Regions from separate parts of the Homo sapiens genome. Here all the other regions are linked to region 3. The links are contacts of gene promoters, found by promoter capture Hi-C in human tissues and cell types (Jung and others, 2019). All regions are on one chromosome and are shown on one strand. Each heading gives the region's core, a stretch centred on a gene start or on the middle of the fragment in contact. The rest is flanking DNA. Distances are from core to core; before and after follow the strand shown.

Evidence for each region. Contacts are between HindIII fragments. The study calls those that stand out against the background at their distance.
Region 1: a contact is called between a fragment that was not itself captured here and the fragment with the promoter of FLNB in region 3, in 2 of the 25 tissues and cell types used here (bladder and mesenchymal stem cells).
Region 2: a contact is called between a fragment that was not itself captured here and the fragment with the promoter of FLNB in region 3, in 3 of the 25 tissues and cell types used here (IMR-90 fibroblasts, hippocampus and pancreas).

Annotation. Positions count from the first base shown.
Region 1 is chr3:57,885,155-57,888,462 of GRCh38, reverse strand. The region is part of intron 14 of SLMAP (sarcolemma associated protein); the gene reads right to left. Among named protein-coding and RNA genes, the nearest start is that of FLNB, 120 kb to the left of the region's middle. The HindIII fragment of the contact is 6,777 bases long and covers 1-3,308 here.
Region 2 is chr3:57,940,318-57,943,621 of GRCh38, reverse strand. It overlaps the pseudogene PPIAP16. Among named protein-coding and RNA genes, the nearest start is that of FLNB, 66 kb to the left of the region's middle. The HindIII fragment of the contact is 3,365 bases long and covers 1-3,178 here.
Region 3 is chr3:58,006,942-58,009,864 of GRCh38, reverse strand. It overlaps FLNB (filamin B), which reads right to left and starts at 1,443. Exons shown (of 46, transcript NM_001457.4): 1 at 1,009-1,443. The coding sequence starts at 1,300. The HindIII fragment of the contact is 12,217 bases long and covers 1-2,923 here.

The DNA.
Region 1 (3,308 bases), core at 597-3,096, 120 kb after region 3:
GTATTTTTAGTAGAGACGGGGTTTCACCATGTTGGCCAGGATGATCTTGATCTCTTGACCTCCACCCGCCTCAGCCTCCCAAAGTGCTAGGATTACAGGCATGAGCCACTGCGCCTGGCCTATAATCAGTATTTATATTGAAAAATTATTTTATATAATGAGTCATATAGTATGCTATAATTATATTTCCTTTCTTGTATGGCCTTCGGTATACTCAGAATTTATAATGCTTCATTTTTTTGTTTTATTAATTTTTATATATCTCAAACATAGCCCAAGTTCTCACAGAACCATACAACTTTCAATATTGTCAAACACACCAAGTAATTTATCACATCATATATCCCCACCTTCCTCTTTCTGTTTTCTTATAACATATCCTCTTATAATTTCCTGAAAAGGGGTGGACAGAAGGTAAATACTTTGTGATTTTGCTTCTCTGAAAATGTTAGCATTCTACCTTCACATGTGATTGATGCTTTGACTAGATACACAAATCTACAGGAAATACTTTTGCATCAGAATTTTGAAAGCATTATTCCACTGTCTTCTAGCTTCCAACCAGAAGGTGAGTCTAATACAGCTTGAATCCTGTTCCTCAGTACACATAGTAGGGATTTCTTGCACTCAGTAATATCTGGTTTGCCTGTTCTGTTTGGGCATCAGGGAGGACTGCACATCCCAACTCCCTAGCACTGAGGAAGATTCATAGGACTGATGCTAGCCAGGGCCAAAGCATTTAAGAGAAAGTTTAAGTTTTTTACACCTTATCCCACCACAGGAACTCTAGAAGCTGTGTGTTGAGACAGCAACATCATAAGATAGTAAAGACTCCATCTGTCTAGATCTCTGAGTGACAATATGGAGCAGAGTGGTCTTCCTCACCATGGACATGTAGTGTGAATGAGAAATAAATGTTTGTTTAGTTGAGCCATTAAGATTTCATGGCTTGGCTGGGCATGGTGGCTCATGCCTGTAATGCCAGCACTTTGGGAGGCCGAGGTTGGCGGATCACCTGAGGTCAGGAGTTCGAGACCAGCCTGACCAACATGGAGAAACCCCAAAATTAGCTGGATGTGGTGGCGCATGTCTGTAATCCCAGCTACTCAGGAGGCTGAGGCAGGAGAACCGTTTGAACCCAGGAAGCGGAGATTGAGGTGAGCTGAGATGACACCATTGCACTTCAGCCTGGGCAACAAGAGTGAAACTCAAAAAAAAAAAAAAAAATCTCATGGCTTATTTATTACTATATTATAAATTTAGCTTATTATGACTATATGATATCCTTTGTTTCTCTCTAGAAGGTTTCGGAATCTTCTCTTTATTCCTGGTGCTCTTAAATTTCATATTCCTCAGTGTGTAGTCTCTTTTTTCTCTTTTTTTTCCTTAAATGAGGTGAAATTCACATAACATAAAACAACTATATGAACAATGCTGTAGAATTTAGTATATTCACTATGTTGTGCCTAGTTCCAAAACATTTTCATTACCCAACAAAAACCCTATACCCATTAAGCATTTATTCCCCACCTCCACCTCACCGGTCCCTGGCAGTCCCACATCTGCTTGCTATCTCTATGGATTTACCCGTTCTAGATATTTCATATAAATAAAACAATATAACACATGACATTCTGTGTCTGGCTTAGTGTGTGGTCATTTAAAATATATTGTGCTAAGTACTCGGTGCATTTTTTTTTTCAGTTTATAAGCTCGTATCTGTCACTTCTGGGGAATTATCTTGTATTCTACTTAATTGGTAAATTATTCCATTCTCTCTCTCCCCCTTATTCTCCCCCTCTGGAATTCATTATTAATATATTAGATCTCTAGGATTAAACCTCAAATTTTCTTTAATTTTCCCTCTTGAAAAAAAAAAAAACCTCTTGCCTTTTTCTTATATTTTCTGGGACATTTCCTCTACCTTCTCCTCAATCTTCCTACAGTTTTTAAAAATCTGGTATCATATTTTTAGCTTTCAAAAATTCTATTTGCATTTTGCTCCTTTAAAAAATACCATCTTTATCTTGCTTCATCCATAAAACTTCAAAAATTATACTTTTAAGCTGGGTGCAGTGGCTCATGCCTGTAATCCCAGCACATTGGGAGGCCAAAGTGGGTAGATAACCTGAGGTCAGGAGTTCGAGACCAGCCTGGCCAACATGGTGAAAACCCGGTTCTACTAAAAATACAAAAATTAGCCAGGTGGCGGGCACCTGTAATCCCAGCTACTCAGGAGGCTGAGGCAGGAGAATTGCTTCAACCTGGGTGGCAGAGGTTGCAGTGAGCTGAGATCATGCCACTGCACTCCAGCCTGGGCAACAGAGCGAGACTCCATCTCAAAAAAAAAAAAAAATTATATCTTTAAAAAAGTTTCTGCTTCTTGGGCGCATTGGCTCATGCCTGTAATTCCAGCACTTTGGGAGGCCAAGGTGGGTGGATCACGAGGTCAGGAGTTCGAGACCAGCCTGACCAACATGGTGAAACCCCGTCTCTACTAAAAATACAAAAATTAGCTGGGCATGGTGATGCACGCCTGTAATCCCAGCTACTCAGGAGGCTGAGGCAGAAGAATCGCTTGAATCTGGGAGGCAGAGTTTACAGTGAGCCAAGATCGCACCACTGCACTCCAGCCTGGGCGACAGAGCAAGACTCTGTCTCAAAAAAAAAAAAAAAAAAAAAAAAAAAAAAGAACCAAAAACCGAAAAGCAAAACAACAATAACAACAACAACAAAAACAAGATGGCCGGGCGCGGTAGCTCATGCCTGTAATCCCAGCACTTTGGGAGGCCCAGGCGGGCGGATCACCTGAGGTCGGGAGTTTGAGACCAGCCTGACCAACGTGGAGAAACCCTGTCTCTACTAAAAACACAAATTTAGCCAGTCGTGGTGGTGGGTGCCTGTAATCCCAGCTACTCGGTAGGCTGACGCAGGAGAATCGCTTGAACCCGGGTGGTGGAGGTTGTGGTGAGCCGAGATCGCACCACTGCACTCTAGCCTGGGCGACAGAACAAGACTCTGTCTCAAAAAAAAAAAAAACACAAAAACAACAACAACAAAACAAAACAAAACAACAACAACAACAAACAAGCTGGCTGGGTGCAGTGGCTCACGCCTGTAATCTCAGCACTTTGGGAGGCCAAGGCGGGCATCACCTGAGGTCGGGAGTTCGAGACCAGACTGACCAACATGGAGAAACCTTGTCTCTACTAAAAATACAAATTTAGCCGGGCGTGGTGGTGGGTGCCTATAATCCCAGCTACTCAGGAGGCTGAGGCAGGAGAATTGCTTGAACCTGGGTGGTGGAG
Region 2 (3,304 bases), core at 247-2,746, 66 kb after region 3:
CTTCCAGTTTCTCAGGCTGCTTTCTGGAGAAGTCATTTAATTCCGAGTCAATGCAAACCATCGATATAACTTGGTTGTTCAAACTTTTTTTTTGAGACAGGGTCTCCTGTTGCCCAGGCTGGAGTGCAGTAGTGTGACCATGGCTCACTGCAGCCTCAACCTCCCGGGCTCAAGTGATTCTCCTGCCTCAGCCGTCCAAGTAGCTGGGACTACAGGCATGTGCCACCACACCCAGCTCATTTTAAATTTTTTTGTACAGACAGGGTCTCATTATGTTGCCCAGGCTGATCTAGAACTTCTGGGCTCAAGCCATCCTCCTGCCTCAGCCTCCCAAAGTGTAAGATTACAGGTGTGAGCCACTGTGCCCGGCCACATGGGAGCCATTCTGGAAAGCCCTGAAGGCACTTGGCATGGAAGGCAAGCTTGTCACACGACAAGGACAGCTAAGGGAGCCAAGCTCATTGGGCCTTATGCCAGCTTGGAGAGGTACATTCCAGAGGAGTCTCATAAAAGCAGGAGTTGAGTTCTGGGTAGCACAGCAATTAGAACTAGGACCAATGCAGCTATGAAACACTAAAAAACAGATTTAGGAACACTTAACATTATGAAATGCTGCCATGTGCGGTGGCTTGCTACCAGTTTCAAGAGGGAGTCAGATGAAACTGGGGAAGTTGTATAAAGATTTGCTTTGGCTTAGATCAGACGCTCCTAAATGTCCAACCATTAGTGCAATCTCCAGTGGACTAGGGTGACCTGAGGAAAATAAGGCCATAGCCCTAAAGCTGGTCCATTTAAAGGACTTTTCCTTTCTTGATAACAGTCCATATGCAAAGGGCTCTGAAAACCAAGTTTTTTTTTTTTTTTTTTTTTGGTTTGGTATAAAAACTCATTTTGCAGAAAACTCTGACCTGAACTGACATAGTTATTTATAGCCTTTACTTATTCCACTTAGTTGAATATTCACATGGTTCACTGGAAATTTTGCATTTTACTATGAAGTGTTACATTCACCATATTAACCTTTCAAAAATGTAAATACATTGCAATTCCAAAATACATCTGGCCTCCAGGGTTTCATAAGAAACTGTGGATTAGGTGTATCCTTTTTTGTTGTTGCTGTTAGTTTTTATTTCATAATCATAAGCTTAACTCTGCAATCCAGCTAGGCATGAAAGGAATAAGGAGAACATGGAACCCAAAGGGAACTGCAGTGAAAGCTCAAAGATTCTAGGATACTGCGAGCAAATGGGGTGGAGGGGTGCTCCCCTGAGCTACAGAAGAAATGGTCTGGTGGTTAAGATAAAACACAAGTCAAACTTAGTAGAGCTGTCCACAGTTAGCAATGGTGATCTTCTTGCTGGTCTTGCCATTCCTGGACCCAAAGCGCTCCATGGCCTCCACAATATTCATGCCTTCACCATGCCAAAGGCCACATGCTTGCCATCCAACCACTCAGTCTTGGCAGGGCACATGAAAACTGGGAACCACTTGTGTTGGGTCCAGCATTTGCCATGGACAGGATGCCAGGACCTATATGCTTCAGGATGAAGTTCTTGCAATCAAATTTCTCCCTGTAGATGGATGTGCCACCAGTGTGGCATGTGAAGTCACCACCCTGACATACAAACCCTGGAATAATTCTGTGAAAGCAGGAACCCTTACACCCAAATCTTTTCTCTCCAGTGCTCAGAGCATGAAAGTTCTCTGTTGTCTTTGGAAACTTGTCTGCAAACAGCTCAAAGGAGATACGGCCCAAGGGCTTGTCGTTGACAGCAATATCGAAGACCATGGTGGGGTTGACCATGGCTGGTAATACGGGGCTCCCAGTGGCAGCAGCATCTGCAAACCTGGTGTATCCTATTTTTCAAGTATTGTAATGGCCTTTCTTTAATTAAATGGTGAGTTAATAGTAGCGTTTGGTATGTTTTTTACATTAAAAACTGTTATAGCTTAGTGATATGGTTTGAATACTGCTTGTTTGTCCCACCAAGTCATGGTGAAACCTGATCCCCAATGTGACAATGTTGGGAGGTGAAGCCTAGTGGGAGGTTCTTGGGTCACGGGGGTGGATCCTTCACGAATGGCTTGGTGCCTTTCTTGCCATAGTGATTGAGTTCTTGCTCTGAGGAAACTGGATTAGTTCTCACAGGAATCAATTAGTTCTGGGGAGAGTGGGTTGTTATGAAGCCAGGGCGTGCCTTGGGTTTTGCCTCTCTTTGCAGGTGTCTGCTTTCCCTTTGACCTTCATGTTGTGACCTAGCATGTGGCCCTCACCAGAAGCAAGAATATGCTGGTGCCATGCTCCTTGGACTTCCCAGCCTGCAGAACTGTGAGCTAAATAAACCTCTTTTCTTTCTTTCTTTTTTTTTTTTTTTGAGACGGAGTCTAGCTCTGTTGCCCAGGCTGGAGTGCAGTGGTGTGATCTCTGCTCTCTGCAAGCTCCGCCTCCCAGGTTCACGCCATTCTCCTGCCTCAGCCTCCCGAGTAGCTGGGACTACAGACGCCTGCCACCACACCCGGCTAATTTTTTTTTGTATTTTTAGTAGAGACCGGGTTTCACCCTGTTAGTCAGGATGGTCTCGATCTCCTGACCTCGTGATCCACCTGCCTTGGCCTCCCAAAGTGCTGGGATTACAGGCGTGAGCCACGGCATCTGGCAATAAACCTCTTTATAAATTACTCAGTCCCAGGTATTCTGTTAAAGCAATACAAAATGGACTAAGACATTCAGTAAAATAAAACGTTTGGCAACCCTGAGTCTAGCTCCAAAATTTCTGGAACATTTTATTGGTCTGTGAAGTCCAACCCCAGCATAAGGCACCTCTAGTGCTTTAGAATTCTAGGCTTAATTAGACCAGAGGTTGCCAGTTGGTAGCTCCACTGACCAAACTGGGCCTGCAGGTGTGCTTTGCTTGCCTCACACAGGGCCTTCTTCCCCCTTTTTAATCTGGAAAGTGAACATAAAGTCCAGTTTCCAGTTTCTGGTTTTTTTTTTTGTTTGTTTGTTTGTTTGAGACAGACTCTCATTCTGTCACCCAGGCTGGAGTGCAGTGATGTGATCTCGGCTCACTGTAACCTCTGGCTTCTGGGTTCAAGTGATTCTCCTGCCTTGGCCTCCCGAGCAGCTGGGATCACAGACACGCGTCACCATGCCCAGCTAATTTTTTTTTGTTTGTTTGTATTTTTAATGGAGATGGGGTTTCGCCATGTTGGCCAGGCTGGTCTCAAACTCCTGACCTCAGGTGATCCACCCACCTTGGCCTCCCAAAGTGCTGCAATTACAGGCGTGAGCCACTGTGCCCAG
Region 3 (2,923 bases), core at 194-2,693:
ATTCTTCCTCCCCAGACCAGAAGGCCCAGTCCAGCAAGAGACACCAATTCCCTCCCTCCTTTCAGGAAGACCCTGGTGTAGGTTTGGGAGAGGAGAGGAAAACAAAGCCTCCTTCTAACTGTTGCCCACTTCCTTCAGTTCTCAGCTGGGCCCTACTTGCTGACCTTGGACAGGTCAATTAACCCTCCGGACCCCCTTATCTGTAAAATGGGTCTAGCCTCACCCCAGATGGCAGGATGCGTAGGGACGGAGATAACTTAGAAGGCTGACGGTACACAGTGGACGCTAGTTGGGCTCCCTACAAGACAGCAATTACTGTTACCACCACCATCTCTAAATTATAACTTCGGCAGCAAGGAGTGGGTTCAACCTGCGGCGCGCGGCCAGAGCTGAGCTGGGAGCAGAGAGAGCGAGGACACACACCCGCGCCTACCCTTGCAACCTCGGGGCCCACACCCATTCCAGCGACGGCAGGGGAAGGTACCAGGTCTCTGTCTCCACCTGGGCAGGGAGGCCCCAGGCGCAGAGAACGGTTCCTCCTCAGGTCTCACGGCCCGGCCTCCGAGCCAACGCCCATTCAGCTGCCTCTGAGAGCACCAACCTGGGCGCAGCAGGGAGAGCACTCCGCGGAGCATCTGACCCTAGGGCCCGCCCCCGGGGACAGCGAACGAGGGTTTCTAGTCCCCTAGCTCCCATAGGGGCGCCCCAGGTGTAGAGAAATGCAACAACTCCACCTCTCCTCCTGTGACCCCAGCCCAAACCCTCAACCCTTAGCCAGCCAAAGGTGCACTGCTGGGGCGGATGGCGGGGAGCGATCACAACAGGTCCCATCCCAGGGGAAGACACCGGGGAGGGGGTCTAGGCCCCCTATAACCCACCCCTGGGGACGACTCCCCCTTATCTCCGAGGTGGGGGCGCGCTGCGGGAAATCCTCGCCCTCCGCAGGGGTGCACGCGCGGGGGCGGGTCGGCACCACAGTGGGCGCCTGGGCCCGGCCAGAGAACTCACCGATGGACACGAGCTTGATGCTCTCACGGTCCAGGAACTCGAGCGCCACGGACACATTCTCGAGCTGCATCTGGCGAAAGGTGGGCCGCTGATGGTACTTGCGGTACATGCGCTTCTGGCTGAGCACCTCGAGCAGCGCGATGAGCCGCAGCCCGTCGCTCAGGTCGGTCTGCAGGTTGCCGATGCGTTTGTTCACGCACTTGAGGTGCTCGTTGCACCAGCGTGTGAACGTGTTCTGCTGGATCTTCTTCCAAGGCGCGTCCTCAGCTAGATCCTTCTCGGTTACCGGCATCCTGGTGGCGGGGAGAGCGCAATGCGCAACGAGCTGCCGGGGACTGGTGTTTGGAGGCCCAAGGGCCGAAGGAGCGAGAACCGAAGCGGAGCGGGAGCGGGGTTCGAACTTGCTGCTACCGGAGCCACGGCCGGTGCTGCTCTGCGGCCGCCCGCCCCTGGCCGCGCGAGGCGCCTGGCCCCGCGCCTGCGCGCTGAGCCGCCCCGCCCCCAAGCCCCGCCCCGTCCCGACCCTCCCGCGGGAGTTCCTGGGCCACGCTCGCCTCCTGCCGCCTGCCGCAGGCACTGCGCCCCACTGCGTCCTGGGACCCGCGCTCGAAGCCCACCACCCCAGCAGGATGTAGGGCTGCCTGAATCACCCGGTCAGCCCCGGGGTGGGGGGACCCGCGGGGGCTGGGAGCCGGACAGAATGGGTCGGGCCTCAGTGGGACTTGCGGGAGGGGCGCGCGGGGCGGAGGTCTTCATCCACATATAGATTGAATAAAATTCAGTAAGGGCTTTTATTGAGCTCCGCCTGTGTACCAGCCATTCTTCTCAGAGCCTGCTAACCAGTAGTAAATCAGACAAACGTATTGCACAACCTCAAGGAGTTCACACAGCCTAATGGAAGAGAAAAGTGTAATTCCACCATAACCAACAGCCCAGTAGTGGTGGTAAAAATGAACAATAAGGCTTGTTGCATGTCTTAGTTTCCAGTTACTGCTGTAACAAGTTACCAAAACTTAGTGTCTTTGAAAACACACACCCACAAATGTATTATCCTTCAGTTCTGTAGGTTCGATGGCCCACACAGGTCTTGCTGAGCTAAAAACAAAGTGTTGGCAGGATGCATTCCCTTCTGGAGGCTGTAGGGAAGAATCTGTTTCCTTGTGTTTTCTAACTTCCAGAAGCTGCCTGCGCGCCTGACTCCTGCCCCTTTTCTCTGTGAAAGCCTGCAATGGGCTGGGCACAATGGCTCACACCTGTAATCCCAGCACTTTGGGAGGCCAAGGTGGGTGGATCACCTGAGGTCAGGAGTTCGAGACCAGCCTGGCCAACATGGTAAAACCCCATCTCTACTTAAAATACAAAAATTAGCCAGGTGTGGTGGCGCGTACCTGTAATCCCAGCTACTGGGAAGGCTGAGATAGGAGAATCGCTTGAACCTGGGAGGCAGAGGTTACAGTGAGCTGAGATGGTGCCATTGCACTCCAGCCTGGGCGACAGAGCAAAACTCCGTCTCAAAAAAAAAAAAAAAAAAAAAAAAAACAGAAAAGCAAGCCTGCAATGTCAGGTGGAGTCTCTCAGACCTCAGACAGTCCTCTCTCCATAGGCACATCTTCCTTTTTTTTTTTTTTCCTGCGATGGAGTCTTACTCCGTTGCCCAGGCTAGAGTCCAGTGGTGCAATCTCGGCTCACTGCAACCTCCTCCTCCTGGGTTCAAGCAATTCTCTTGCCTCAACCTCCTGAGTGGCTGGGATTACAGGCACCCGCCACCACGCTCCGCTAATTTTTGTATTTTTAATAGAGACGGGCTTTCACCATGTTGGCCAGGCTGGTCTTGAACTCCTGACCTCAAGCGATCCACCAGCCTCTGCCTCCCAAAGTGATGGGATTACAGGCATGAGCCACCTTGCCCAGCCTT